2 separate regions of the Homo sapiens genome follow, and region 2 is linked to region 1. Evidence: promoter capture Hi-C in 16 types of primary human blood cells and fetal thymus (Javierre and others, 2016). All regions are on one chromosome and are shown on one strand. The core of a region is centred on a gene start or on the middle of the fragment in contact, and the rest is flanking DNA. Distances in the headings are between cores, read along the strand shown.

Evidence for each region. The method cuts DNA at HindIII sites, captures the fragments that hold promoters and counts their contacts. A CHiCAGO score of 5 or more calls a contact.
Region 2: a contact is called between a fragment that was not itself captured here and the fragment with the promoter of IL20RB-AS1 in region 1, in 5 of 17 cell types (total CD8 T cells, naive CD8 T cells, activated CD4 T cells and 2 more). The highest score is 6.8, in total CD8 T cells.

The regions. Positions count from the first base shown.
Region 1 is chr3:136,976,931-136,984,835 of GRCh38, forward strand. IL20RB-AS1 (IL20RB antisense RNA 1) reads right to left here and starts at 5,261. Exons shown (of 4, transcript NR_183729.1): 1 at 5,133-5,261; 2 at 2,588-2,920. It overlaps IL20RB (interleukin 20 receptor subunit beta), which reads left to right. Exons shown (of 7, transcript NM_144717.4): 2 at 3,536-3,662; 3 at 5,230-5,420. The HindIII fragment of the contact is 2,087 bases long and covers 4,014-6,100 here.
Region 2 is chr3:136,490,546-136,498,450 of GRCh38, forward strand. The region is part of intron 9 of STAG1 (STAG1 cohesin complex component); the gene reads right to left. Among named protein-coding and RNA genes, the nearest start is that of PCCB, 240 kb to the left of the region's middle. The HindIII fragment of the contact is 801 bases long and covers 3,595-4,395 here.

The DNA.
Region 1 (7,905 bases), core at 4,011-6,510:
GACTACATGATTCCATGGTGGGAATGAGGGCCACCAGAAGTCTCTCACTTACTCTGCCCACATTGAGAAGTCACTCTTGGCTGCCAGCTGATCCTAGCCAAGCAGGCTGCCTCTCCTCCTCCTTCCTTGCTTTTGGTGTTTCCTGTAACTTTTCTGTTGAGTTCCAGTGTTTTCTTTTGGATAATGTATTCAAAGTGTGACTGTATATACATGATTTCGGTTCTTCTAAGTGGAGGAGGTAAGCATGAAATGCTTCTGGTCAGCCATCTTGAAGCCCCTCCCCCTCCTTTTATGTATTATAGTTCCTTTGACTTTTCTTATAAAATTTAGGAAAAACTTATCTATATTAACAAAAAGCTTGCTGAACTATTGATAGGAATTGCATTAAACCTATATACAATTTGGGGGAGAATTGGCATCTTAACTGTTGAATCTTCTAATGCATGAACACAGTATGTCTCTCCATTTATTTAAATCTTCTTTGATTTCATTTAGCATTGTGGAGTTTTCCCTGAGTATATTTTGTCAGATTTACACCTATTTTTTTAGTGATTATAATTTTAATTTCTGTGTATGTGTTTGTTGCTGGTATATAGAAATATAATTTTTTTTTGAGATGGAGTCTTGCTCTGTTGCCCAGGCTGGAGTGCGGTGGTGCAATCTCAACTCACTGCAACCTCCACCTCCTGGGTTCAAGCGATTCTCCTGCCTCAGCCTCCTGAATAGCCAAGATTACAGGCACGCACTACCACGCCCAGCTAATTTTTCTATTTTTAGTAGAGATGGGGTTTTGCCATGTTGGCCAGGCTGGCCTCGAACTCCTGAGCTCAGGCGATCTGCCTGCCTTGGTCTCCCAGAGTGCTGGGTTTACAGGCGTGAGCCACCAGGCCTGGCCTGGTTTTAGATTTTTTTTTAAGATTCTGTGGGACTTTTCTACATGTGGGAGAGCATATCATGTCATTTGCATATAGGGCAAGTTTTACTACTTCTTTTATAATCTATATTTCTTTTACTTATTTTGCTTGCCTTATTACAGTGGCTAGAACTTTCAGTAGTATGTTGAATAAGAGTGGTAAGAGTGGACATTCTTGCCTATTCCTGATCTTGGAGAGGAAGCATTCAGTCCTTCACCATTAAGTAAGATGTTAGCTGTAGGTTTTTTGTAGATGGTCTTTATCAAGTTGTGGTAACTCCCTGCCTGCTCTTAACTTGAAGAGAGTTTTTGGTTCTGTCTTGTTTTTTTTTTTTTTTTTGAGATGGAGTCTTGCTCTGTCACCCAGGCTAGAGTGCAATGGCTTGATCTTGGCTCACTGCAACCTCCGTCTCCCAGGTTCAAGCAAGTCTCCTGCCTCAGCCTCCCAAGTAGCTGGGATTACAGGTGAGTGCCACCACACCCAGCTAATTTTTCTATTTTTAGTAGAGACTGGGTTTCACCATGTTGGTCAGGCTGGTCTCGAACTCCTGACCTCAGCTGATCCGCCTGCCTCGGCCTCCCAAAGTGCTGGGATTATGGTGTGAGCCACCGCACCTGGCCTGTTTTGTCTTGTTTTTCATAATGAATGGATGTGGGTTTTGTAAATCCTTTTTCTGTGTCAATTGATATGATTTATGATTTTATTCTTTAGTTTATCGACATGGTAAATTACATTAACTGATTTTCAAATGTTGAACCAGCCCTGCATACCTAGAACAAATCCCACTTGGTTATGGTATATAGTTCTTTTTGTACATTACTGAATTTGGATTGCTATATTTTGTTGAAGATTTTTGTCTAAGTTCATGAGATATATTTTTATGTAGTTTATGTATATATTTTCCTCATCTGATTTTGGTATCATGGTAATACTGGCCTCATAAAGTAAGCTGGAAACTGTTCTTTCCTATTCTATGTTTTAGAGGAAATTGCATTTTGTTGATGTTGTCATCTTTAAATGTTTGGTAGAATTTTCCATTAAAACCATCTGTGCCTGGAGATTTCATTTTTGAGAGCTTTAAAGTTATATAATTAAATTACATTAATTAATAAATTGATTTGTTGACATAATTTAATTATGTAATTAAATTAGTTATATAAAATGTAGCTTTGTATTTATATAGGTTTATATTCCCCAAATAGCTGGCTAGAGAATTTTTTTAAAACTTTACCAGAGGAAGGTGTCAGAGGGGACCATTCCTTGTCCTCCTGTACCACTCTACCCCTTTTCCTTTCCATCCCTTGGGTGATTTCAAGCTTAGGGGTGGGTGGGGGTCAGGAAGACTGCCTTGTGGGTGCTCCAGGTGTTTCCCCACAGAACAGACCATGGATGCTGAGGGTGAGATGGAGGTGCATCACTAGGGCCCTACATTAGAGAAAGGGCAGGGAAACCAGGTGGGGTGTCCCCAGCAGCCTTCCATCCCTTTGTGGTCACAGGGCTTGATAACAAACAGCAGGTGCCAATCTGGAGATAGGCACAGAGATGAAAAGTCCCAAATGAGGACTCCAGCCCCACCCCCACTATGCTGTAGATGCTATCACTGCACTGTAACAGCAAAGGGAGGCAGGTGTTGGGCATTTAAACAGGAACATAGCAGAGAGTTCAGACTGTACCTTTGGGTGACATGTGAGGATGAAGTTTTTGGCTTTGTGACTGCCCAAAGTCCTTATGAGCAGGTTCAGCTTCATAGGCCTCTTTCATTCTCTACAAATCATAGTCCCACTGTGTGCATACTCTGGGCACACTGTGTCTGGGTACACTCGGGGCATACTTGTGTCCCAGACTGGCTCAGGGGCCTGCAGTCTTTCCGGGGTGGACTCACAGAGCTGGCTTGGTGTCCCACTTGAATGGACTCTCTCCACAGCAGATCTGAGCCTGTACTTCCCACCTGGCAACTGATGACCCATTTGGCCTTGTTGAGGGACATGAAACGATTGCTTTGGCATCTGAGGATGGCAGTAGCAGGAGAGGGAGGTGATGAGAATGTTGCAGTAGTCTGCATTGGTTTTCCATGAATGATTAAGAGGCTCACGTTTATGCAACTTGCTTAAAGCCACATAGTAAGTGGCAGAGTCACTGGATCCTAGCCAGTCTAACAGAAGAGTCATAAATAATGTGACTCAGTTTTCTCATTTGTACAATGGAAAAACTAATGGTCTTTACCTCCCAGTATGGTCATGAGAATTCAATAAGACAGTCATGTAACAATCCAGCACATGGTCTAGATAGAACATGGTAAGTATTAGATAAATATTAGTCATTATTATTATTAATATTGATATGTCATTTATCAACAAAGTCAGAATTATAATGGTGGTACCCAAAATTTAGTGTTAACATAAGCATGATAAAATTAGAGTTGTTTCTGGTTTATAAACATGTGAGGCTTTTTTTTTTTTGAGACAGAGTCTCATTCTGTTGTCTAGGCTGGAGTGCAGTGGTGCAATCTCAGCTTACTGCAACCTCCGCCAGTGAGGCCCTTCATTAGACACTAATTTGAAGCTATGGCATTCCCCCACTATGAGCCCACCTGTCAGCCAGGCTATCTGCCTTGATCCTAGATGAAGTGGCCATTCTGCCTGCCCCTCAGAACCTCTCTGTACTCTCAACCAACATGAAGCATCTCTTGATGTGGAGCCCAGTGATCGCGCCTGGAGAAACAGTGTACTATTCTGTCGAATACCAGGGGTGAGTTTTTTCTTTTAATAGTTCTTCTCCCTTAAGCAGAAGTTGGTTCCTGAAGGCATAGCCCTTCCTCCTGAGCCCAAGGTGGCTTTTTGAGTCCAGGGATAGATTATCCCCAAAGATCTACCCCCTCTGTCTGCATAGGCATTGAAAGAGTTGAAGAAGCAAGGGAAATTGTTCTGTGGATTTGACAGTGAACTCTCTGGGAAGATGAATGTGCATAACACATTTTGGTGGAGTTATTTTAAAAAGTGAATCAACTGTCCAATGGGTTTGACTCTGACTTGAGATGGATAAATCACTGGAGACTCAGATCCTTTAAGGGTGGAGGAGTCCTCACTTTTCCTGACTATAAGCTTATACCTAGAGCCAAAACGAACTATAATCCTAAAGGTCAGCTGGCCCTGGGGCTGAGCAGGCTCTAGTCTTCTCCAGGTGTTCAGGTGCTTGCAGCTATTGAATAGTGATAAGGACACAGAAATTGCTCCATATATTTCATTAACAATGAATACAGACTGAACACCTACATGTGTAGACATTCTTCTAGGCTCAGGGATACAGTTGACAAGGTTTCTGGATTTTGAGAGCTTACATCTAGAGGAGGATACAGATGATAAATATACTAGGCCAGCATTCTCTAGTATGGTAGCCACCAGCCACAGCTGGCTATTTAAATTTAAATTAAATTAAATTAAATTAAATTAAATTAAAATGTCTGTTTCCTGCCACACTAGTCACATTTTAGGTGTTCAATAGCCACATGTGGCCAGTGGTTACCATATTGAACAACATCGATTTAGAATATTTGCATCATCACAGAAAGTTTATTTTTGGAAAGCACTGCTCTAGGGAATTTTGGATAGTAATCAGTGCTAGGAGGAAGCTAAAAGGCTGATGCCATAGAGAGTTGACACTGAGGCTCCTTTATATTAGATGGCCTGGGATGGCCTCTCTGAGGAGGTGATATTTATGCCATATCTGAAGGACAAGAGGAGCCAGCCATGCGAACAGCAGGGGCAGAGCGTTTGAGATGGAGTGAACAGTTAGTCAAAGGTCCTAAGGCAAAAAGTGCTCAGCATTTTGGAGAAATGACCAATGTGGCAAGAATATCACGCTTCGGAGCAGAGTGAGAGAGAAGGCCAAAGCATCTTGTAAGACCACTGGCAAGAGTTTGGATCCCATTCTAAGTCCTGTAGGAAGCCATTAAGGAGAGAAACGTCACAATCTGCTGAGTGGTGAATGGTTTTGAGAATGGCAGGTGTCCAAGCTGGGAGATCACAGCAAGGCAAGGAATGACAGTGGCTGAGATTAGGGTGATGACCCTGGAGATGAAGAGATAAAAGAGATCCAGACACATTGATGTTTATGCCTAGCTTTCCCTATCTGGCAATAAAAGGAGTAAGGGACGATGGATGGTTGGTAGGGAGGAGAGTGGAGGAGCTAGGATAATGAGAAAGTACTTATTTTACTTACCTGTACAAAGTAGGTGAACGAAGTCAGTTACTTGCAACCATAACTGAGCCTGTGTCAGAGGGGCTGGTGTAACTCTGTGCCCTCCTCTCTTTGACAGGGAGTACGAGAGCCTGTACACGAGCCACATCTGGATCCCCAGCAGCTGGTGCTCACTCACTGAAGGTCCTGAGTGTGATGTCACTGATGACATCACGGCCACTGTGCCATACAACCTTCGTGTCAGGGCCACATTGGGCTCACAGACCTCAGCCTGGAGCATCCTGAAGCATCCCTTTAATAGAAACTCAAGTAAGGCACTTCTCTCCTTACACTCCCACCCCAACCAGCCCCTCCTTTAGGAACCATGTTCACCTAAACTTTCTAGACTCTTTTTAGCATCAGAATAGTCCTGCAAAGCCAGAGTATTGTGAACACAAACAACCCTTACTGGTATATTTGAAAAATTGCCAACTGCTTTCTACATGCTGCTCTCTGTCATGCCCTTTGACTACTCAAGTCATTCCTGACTGTCTGTGTCAGGGTGTGCAGGTGTTGGGGATGCTGACATTGGGAACCTGGAAGGAAAGCTGCTCTGGAAGTGAAGAGGTGGCACCAGGACTGCTGCTCCCTACTCTGATTGTGCCTCCATAAATTGTGCCTCCCACTTGAGGCCTCATTAACTGCATATTTACTGCCCACGTAAGCAGCTTTGTTGTGCAAGAGGATTTATACACTTAACAGAGCCACCAGAAAATTGCCCTTCTGTAATGACTTCTGTGGGAAATAAATAACTTTTCTTTTGGAGTAGTACCTGGAAAAGGATTGAGAAAGAAGTAATAGAGGAATCCAGATAGGTGGCCAAATGTGGCTGAGTACAAGCACTGGTCATTGTATAAAAGGACATGTGTGTTTGCGGAACAGGAGAGGCAAGGGCTGATGGGCAGGGGGTAGGGAAGCAGTTGATCATGTGGTGAAGGGCTTTGACACGAAGCTTGACCAAGTCAGTAGAGGGTAGCCAATGAAAGAGGAGAGGATCTAGACCAGGTCTATCTCTTTTTTTTTTTGATACGGAGTCTCACTCTGTCACCCAGGTTGGTGTGCAGTGGCGTGATCTCAGCTCACTGCAACCTCTGTCTCCTGGGTTCAAGTGATTCTCCTGCCTCAGCCTCCTGAGTAGCTGGGACTACAGGCGTGCACCACCATGCCTGGCTAATTTTTGTATTTTTAGTAGAGACAGGGTTTCACTATGTTTTCCAGGCTGGTCTGGAACTCCTGACCTCAAGTCATCTGCCCACTTCGGCCTCCCAAAGTGCTGGGATTACAGGCATGAGCCATGGCGCCCGGCCGACCAGGTCTATCTTACAAAGCAACACTCTGGCTGCTGTGTGGAAAGTGAACCAGAGTAGGGCAAGCCTGCAGGACAGGGGAAGAGTGAGGAGGGGGTTGTAATACTCCTACTGATCCCAAGAGTTTGGAAGGGGATGGGAAGGAGATGATGAATCCAAGAAACATGGCTGATTTAGAAAGGACAGAGCTTAGGAATCAAGTTTGTGGGGACAGAAAAGGGAGAGATAATGATAGTATTCAGCTGTCAAATGGAATTGGTGAGAACACCAGCTAAGGCAAATAACCCAGGGGGAAACAACTGGTCTTGAAGAATAGGAGACACCCCCGGCTTTGAGACTGAGATTTCTACAAGATGTCATCTTGTGGATGTCTGACTGGCAGCTGGAAATCAGTCCCTGAGGCTTAGAAAGCTCAAAGGCAGATACATAACACAAAGTGGTTTTGTTTGTTTGTTTGTTTTGTTTTTGAGGTGGAGTCTTGCTCTTTTGCCCAGGCTGGAGTGCAGTGGTGCCAACACAGCTCACTGCAGCCTTGCCCTCCTGGGCTCAAGCGATCCTCCTGCCTCAGGCCCCCAAGAAGCTGGGAATACAGGCACATGCCACCATGCCTGACTAATTTTTTTGTATTTTTGGTAGAGATGGGGTTTCACCATGTTGCCCAGGCTGGTCTCGGACTCCTGAGCTTAAGTGATCCTCTTGCCTCAGCCTCACGAAGTGCTGGGATTATAGGAATGAGCCATCGCACAGGGCCATCACAAAGTTAACAGCTAAAGGCTTGGAAGTAGACGAGACTGTTTAGGGACAAGACGCTGAAGATAAAGAGAGGACAAGGTCCTGGAAAACCTCAGACTTTAAAATGTGGATGGAGGGAAGGGCACCAGGGTAGAGGATAATGGAAAGGAGAATAGAACAGCTCCTGAGAGGCTGGAGGAAGCCCCTGGATGGGCCCTTGAGAAAGTAACTTCATGGAGTGGAAAGGATGACCATCTGGCTGCTGGAGTGGAGGATTGCATGGAGGTAGGAAGGAGCAAGGAATGGGTGGGAATGTAACCAGTTTAGAGCTGCAGGAAAGGCAAGATAAGGGTCTTCTTTGGTCTCTGTTTTCGTGATGTGGCAGAAGAGCTTCTGTTGTGAAAGATGGTGGAAGAAGGTTTGGGGCAGAATTTGCAGCATTCGGATGAGTCAAAATTTACTGAGGAATGTATGATATTAGGTGGAAATTAGGAAGGTTTAGAAGAAGAGGAGCCCAAGCTGAAGAGCAGAGGAGGGAAGGGATGGGGCAGGAATAGGACCATTGGAATGGGATACCAAAAGGAATTTTGGTGCAGATTGTGGGCTCCTTTGCCCAGGCCTCCTTCCCAGGCACCAGGACTGGAATGGAATGGAATGGAATGACTTCATGGAATGGAGAGGATGATCATCTGGCTGAATTTGGTCCAAGAGGAGTT
Region 2 (7,905 bases), core at 2,745-5,244, 490 kb before region 1:
GATTAAAAATCAAATGTCAAAGATACATTAGCTTTCAAAGAAAAATATCCTCTAATTAATATTTACATTTTAACTAGCAACCTGACCCCCACATTAGATCAAAGATGAAATATTAAGAAGAAGATTAAAATAATGGAATAATAGTTTGTTCAGAATAAATCTATTATGGTATTGTATAAGAATAGCTCTGAAAATATGATTCTGAAATGTTTCATTGTAACATAAAAGGATGAAAAGACTCAACTAGTCTTAAAGACATCTGTTTTTCATCTTCTCAAAAGTACTTAAATCTGTCCTCTGAGTAAGTTTGTCCTTATGGCCTAACAACTTTGTTATTCTTTTTTGTTGTTGTTGTTATTCTTTTACCATTACTGAAATAACAATCTTTCTGGTTGCTTTTATAACTGTCTTCATCTTTGATGTTTTTCATTTTCACTACGGTATGTCTAGATGTAGAATATATTCCCTAACCTACTCAGCACTCATTAAGTTTTTTTAATCTGAAGTTTCTGTTTAACTAATTTTATAAAATTGTACTCACTACTACTACTTCTCTCTAATACATTTCTTTCTATGTATCTATTTTTTTAGACACGGGGTCTTGCTCTGTCGTTCAGGCTGGAGTGCAGTGGCTTGATCATAGTTCACTGCACCCTGGAACTCCTGGGCTCAAGCAGTCTTACCATCTCATCCTCCTGTGTAGCTGGGACTACAGGTGCACACTACCATGACCAAGGGCTTCTCTCTTTTCCTGAAACTTCTTTTTAAAGGACTGGTGAAGTATCTGACACTACCCTTCCCATATCAGAAAGGTCCGTCCATATCTTTTTATCCCTTTATTACTGTGATCTGGGTAAACTCCTCAGTATTACATTCCAATTCACTAATTGTCTCCTCAACATTCTAAAGTATATCCTGTTCATTAAATATGAATTTGTGAGTGTTTTTCACATTCAGTATTTTGTGTTTTTACATCCCCTGGTTCTTATTATTTGCCATTTATTTGTGGAAGAAACTGATCATTTGGTCTGAAGTACAGTTTCCCAAATTCTAGACTTAAGCAATACCACAAGGATTCAGTTAGAAAACACATTCTTCTGGTCTCCATACTTACTGTAAATGATTACTTAGATCTAGCAGCATACAGATTAAAATCCAATTTGTTGGCCGGGTGCAGTGGCTCACACTTGTAATCCCAGCACGTTGGGAGCCCGAGGCAGGAAGATCACCTGAGGTCAGGAGTTCAAGACCAGCCAGGCCAACATGGTGAAACCCTGTCTCTATTAAAAATACAAAATTAGCTGAGGATGGTGGTGCACACCTGTATTCCCAGCTACTCAGGAGGCTGAGGCAGGAGAATCACCTGAACCCAGGAGGCGGGGGCTGGAATCAGCCCAAGATCACGCTGCTGCACTCCAGCCTGGGAGACAGAGCAAGATTGTCTCAAAAACAAAACAAAACAAAAAAACAAAAAAATCAAATTTGTTTGAAGTGGATGGTGGTAAGTGGGACACAAAGTGGTAACTTAAAAAGTGATATCTCTGCATAGTACCTACTACTTCCAGTACGTGCAGTAATATCTCCTATTAATCAATAATGTAGACTGAGTGATACTTATGGAAATTAATGATTAGTATCCATGGCATGCTGATCACTTTTGCCAAGTAGGTCACATTCTCAACTACACTTGTATTCTAGTTTTGAATAGTTCAGTCAGGCTATGACAGATCCAATACTAGTTTATGCAAGGTCTGATTAAATAAAATGTAAATCAACATTGTAACAGTAAGAAATTAAATAACTGTTGTTTCTACAAGGATAATAGGTTGAAAGCTTTGTCAAGACTCAAGAAAGGTGAGTCATTAAAATAAATACTGGTGTTACAGACTGACAGAAAATCATAAAAATATGGATTCTGAATTCAAGACTGCATGACGGAGCCAAGATGGACAGAATTTATGCTCTCACTTGAAAAAAGTAAATGAAAACAAAAACCAAATTGCACAAAATGATTTTTAGATGTTGGATTATCAGTCAGAGCAGAATGGTAATCTCTGAGAGGGGATAACACAAGATGAGCCCTAAGACTGCCCCCAGATATTTACATGCCATTTAACAGTTTAAGCAGGGTAAAATTTACCTTACAAGGGACACAAAATGAAGTCCTTCAAACTGCAAGGGAATAACACGATACAATAACTAAATTCCACGGGAAAAAATGAAGAATGTCAAAAATGTTAACAAGAAAGTAAATTAGAAGACAGTAAGTGTATTTGTATTTTCTCCTCTTAATTTTGTTAAGAGATGACTGAACACTCTGAAAATAATGCTGTACAGGTGGGTTAGTAACTAATGTAGACAAAATATATATGACAATAATAGCACAAAGGAAGGACAAGAAAATGAAGCTGGGCTAGAGCAGTGCTTTGTGGAAAATTTAGAGCTTATAAGGGGAGTTGAGAAAGGAGGAAGGATATAAAATGAATAATTTTAGTTTTCAACTTAAGAAACAATTAGGCCAGGCATGATAGTTCACACCTAATCACAGCACTTTGGGAGGCTGAGGGTGGTAAATGGCTTGAGCCCAGGAATTTGAGACCAGCCTGGGCAACATGGCGAAACTTCGTCTCTACTGAAAATACAAAAAATTAACCAGGTATGGTAGTGTGTGCCTGTAGTCCCAGCTACTCAGGAGGCTGAGGTGGGAAGATCACCTGAGCCCAGGATGTTGAGGCTGAAGTGAGCTGTGATTGTGCAACTGCACTCCCACCTGGGTGACAGAGTAAAACCCTGTCTCAAAAAAACCAAACCAAACCAAAACAAAAAGATCAGCAAAGGATGGCTCACACCTGTAATCCCATCACTTTGGGAGGCTAAGGCAGGTGGATCACTTGAGTCCAGGAGTTCAACACGAGCCTGGACAACATGGCCAAACCCTGACTCTACAAAAATAACAAAAATTAGCCAGGCATAGTGATGTGTGCTTGTAGTCCCAACTACTCAGGGGGCTGAGGCGGGAGTACTGCTTGAGCCCGTGAAGTCAAGGCTGCAGTGAGCAATGATCATGACACTGCACTCCAGCTTGGACAACAGAGCGAGATCCTGTCTCCGAAAAAAAAAAAAAAAAAACAACACAAATAATAAATATGGAAACATAAATCAAGGAAATAAAAAACAGAGAAAGCCAACAAAATTACAAGTCCATTATTATTTGAAAAGATCAACAAAACAAACTTACAGTGAAACTGAGAAAGACAAAAGAGAAGACACAAATCACACAAGAATAAATAAGGGGGCTGACAACCCCCCAAAAATTAAAACAACTACAAAATATTATGAATAACATTATGCCATTAAATTTACAATTTGCATGAAATAGACATATTGCCTGAGAAATACAAATTACCAAATCTGACTCAAAAACAACAAAAAATCTGGCGGTGTGCAGGGCGCAGTGGCTCACACCTATAATCCTAGTACTTTGGGAGGCCGAAGCAGAAGGACTGCTTGAGGTCAAGAGTTCTAACCATTCTGGGCAAAACAGGGAGAAGCCCTAGTTTCTAGAAAAAATAAAAAATTGGCCAGGTGTCGTGAAGCTTGCCTGCAGTCCTAGCTACTTGGGAGCTGAGGCAGGAGGACTGCTTGAGCCCAGGACATTGAGGTTCTACGGAGTTGTGATTGTGCCACTGCACTCCAGGCAGGGTGACAGACAGAGACCCTGTCTCAAGAAAATAAATTAATAAAAAACAAAACAAAACTTAAAAAAATTCAGGATATATAAATTGAATCAGTAATTAAAAACCTTTACACAAAGAAAAGCCTGGTATTAAAGGGCTTCTCTGCTGAAATCTACCAAACATAGAAATATTACCAATCCTTCATAAATTCTTTCAGAAAACAGAGCAGGAAGAATAGTTCCCAGTGTATTCTATAAGGCTAGTATTGACACTGTTATTCCTTATGAAAGTAAATGCACAAATCCTTAACAAAATACTAGCAAACTGAATCCAGTAGCATATAAAAAGGATTGTATACCATAACCATGTGGAATTTCTCCCAGAATGCAAGGTTGGTATAATATCTGAAAATCAATGAACACAATACACTATATTAATATAATAAAAGAAAAAACCTGCATGACCACCTCATTCAAAACAGAAAAAATAAAGAAATACATCAATCCATCATGATAAAAACACCCAACAAATCAGGCTAGAAGTAAATTCCTCATCCTACTAAAGGGTATCTACACAAAACTTAGTTAATAACATCGTGCCTAATTTCAAAGTCTAATTGTTTCCCCATTAAGATAAGGAATAAATTCTATATTGTTAAGAGGTTAATTCTCTCCAAATTGGTTCACAAGGTAATTACAATCCCTATGATAATTTCAGAAGCTTTTGTTCAAAAATTGACAAGCTGACCCTAAGATTTATACAGAAATGCAAAGAATCTGTACCAGTCAAAAAATTTTTGAAAACGAAGAATAAAGTAAGACAACTTACACTACCTAATTTTAAAAGCTCATCTAAAGCATACTCAATGCAGGTGGTATCAGTGTAAGGATAGACAGAAAATCCAAAAATAAAACCTTGTGTTTATGGTCAATTCATCTTCAAGAGAGATGGCATGGTAATTCAATTGGGGAAAGATACTTTGTCATTAAATGGTGCTGGGAAAACTGAAAATTTGTATGCAAAAAGTAGACTTCTGCCCTTATATCACGTCATCTACAAAAATTGAATTAAAAATTCAATTTTAAAGGTTCATATGCCTTAATAGAAGAGACAAAATGATTAAACTTCGAAAATAAAACACAGAAGAAATCTTAGGGGTTAGGCAATGTTCACAGATACCAAAAGCATGACCACAGAAGAAAAACTCATAAACTGGGCCATACAAATTGAAAACATTTGCTCTGTAAAGGTCACCATCAAGAAAATGAAAAAAAGCTATACATCTGTTCACGAACTTATATCAAGAATATCAGCCAGGTGTGGTGGCATGGATGGCACGGTGGCTCATGTCTGTAATCCCAGCACTTTGGGAGGCCAAGGTGGGTGGATCACTTGAGGTCAAGAGTTCGAGACCAGCCTGACCAACATGGTGAAACTCCGCCTCTATTAAAAATACAAAATTAGGGCCGGGCACGGTGGCTCATACCTATAATTCCAGCATGTTGGGAGGCTGAGGCAGGTGGCTCGTGAGGTCAAGAGATCAAGACCATCCTGGATAACACGGTGAAACCCCATCTCTACTAAAAATACAAAAAAATTAGCCAGGCATGGTGGCAGGCGCCTGTAGTCCCAGCTACTCGGGAGGCTGAGGCAGGAGAATGGCGTGAACCTGGGAGGCGGAGCTTGCAGAGAGCAGAGACCGTGCACCACTGCACTCCAGCCTGGGTGACAGAGCAAGACTCCGTCTCAAAAAAAAAAAAAAAAAAAAAAAATTAGCTGGGCGTGGTGGTGCATGCCTGTAATCCCAGCTACTTGGGAGGCTGAGGCAGGAGAACCACTTGGATCTGGGAGGCAGAGGTTGCAGTGAGCTGAGATTGTACCACTGCACTCCAGCCTGGGCAACAAGAGGGAGACTCCGTCTCAAAAAACAAACAAACAAACAAAAAAACCCCCAAAAAACACAGAAAGTACTCCTATAAACCCTTCTTAATAATTGTTAGAATAAACAGACCGAAAATCAGTAAAGAGAGAGAAGACTTGAACAACACTATTAACCAATTTGACCTAACTGGTATAAGACGCTAGCCAACAAAAGCAGAATATACCTTATTTTCTTGAGGTATAGAGATCTATAGGTATCTATAGGTATCTATTCACCAAGATAGAGTTTACTGTGGGTCTCATACAAATCTCAATAAATTTAGAAGCATTCAAATCATACAAACTATGTTCTTTGACTACATTGAAATTAAATTAGAAATCAATAACAGAAAGGTATCTAGAAAATCCTCAAATATCTGCACACTAAATGCCATGCTTCAAAATAATCCATGGGTGAAACAAAAAAATCAAAAAGGAAACTAGACAGTATTTTGAACTAAATAAAAAATGCAATATATCCAAATTTAGGACACATAGCTAAAGCAGTGCTTTAAAAAATTTATAGGAGTAAATTCCCTTATTAGAAAAAAAGTGTCAAATCAATGACCTCAAATTCTACCTTGAGAAACTAAGAAGAGCTGAAGAAGTGAAACCCAAAGTGAGCAGATGAAAGGAAATAAAGGACAGAAATCAATGAAATAGAAAACAAAAATAATAGAAAAATTCAATATAAAATAAGATAAAATAGCTCCACATACACTGAACAATGAAAAGAGAAAAGCGGGAAGGAAGCAGGGGGAAAAGGAGTGGGAGAGAGAGAGGGAGAGAGAGAGAGATGTTAAATTACCAATATTATGACCAACTTTATGCTGATAGTTTTTTAATACAACTCAACCACCAAGATGAATGTACCAATTTCTTATAAGACATAAACTACCAAAGTTTACTCAGGAACAACAGATAACCTCAACAGCCCTATATCTACTGGAGAAAATTCATACTTAAAAACCTTCCTGCAAAGAAAATTCTAGGCTCCAATGGTAGAACTCTTATCTGAAGAAGAAATAATACCAGTTCTATCAAACTCACCGAGAAAATTAAAGAAGAGAGAATACACTGTAACTCAATCTACAAGGCCAGCATTACCTTGCTAACAAAGGTAGACAGTGATATTCATTAAAATAAAGTTAGAGCTATTTATCCCTCTTGAACATAGATGCAGAAATTCTTGGAAAAACTCAGCAAATCACATACAACCATATATAGATAAAAACATATCATGATAATGTGGGCTTTATGCGTTCATGTTAACATCTGAACATAAATTCACCACATTAAGTCTTTAAAAAATAAAACAACACACTGATCTCAATAGATGCAGAAAAAGATTTGACAAAATCCAAGATATATTCCTAATAAAAACTCTCAGAAAACTAGGAATAAAAAGAAACTTCCGGCTGGGCGCGATGGCTCATGCCTGTAACCCCAGCACTTTGGGAGGCCGAGGCGGGCGGATCACCAGGTCAGGAGATCGAGACCACCCTGGCTAACACGGTGAAACCCTGTCTCTAGTTAAAAAAAAAATAAAATAAATACAAAAAATTAGCTGGGCGTGGTGGCAGGCGCCTGTACTCCCAGCTACTTGGGAGGCTGAGGCAGGAGAATGGCGTGAACCCGGGAGGTGGAGCTTGCAGTGAGCCGAGATCGCGCCACTGCACTCTAGCCTGGGCAACAGAGCGAGACTCATCTCAAAAAAAAAAAAAATTCCTCAATCTGATAAGGGGCATCTATGAAAATATTACAGCTAGGCCGGGCCTGGTGGCTCACGACTATAATCCCAGCACTTTGGGAGGCCAAGGCAGGCAGATCACCTGAGGTCAGGAGTTCGAGACCAGCCTGACCAACAGGGAGAAACTCCGTCTCTACTAAAAATACAAAATTAGCTGGGCGTGGCAGAGCATGCCTGTAATCCCAGCTACTTGGAAGGCTGAGGCAGGACAATCACTTGAACCCGGGAGGCGGAGGTTGCAGTGAGCCGACATTGTGCCAGTGCACTCCAGCCTGGGCAACAAGAGCAAAACTCCATCTTAAAAAAAAAAAAAAAAATTATATATATATATATATATATATACACATACATATACATACACACACACACACACACACACACCACACACACATACACACACACACACACACACACATATATATACACATTACGGCTAGCAACGCATTCAATGATAAAAAAAACTCTGACTTTGTTCAGAGAAAGAAGCCAGATCCGCCCACAAAAAAAAAACCCAGATATGTTGCATAATTCCATTTCTATAAAATTCTAGAAAATGTA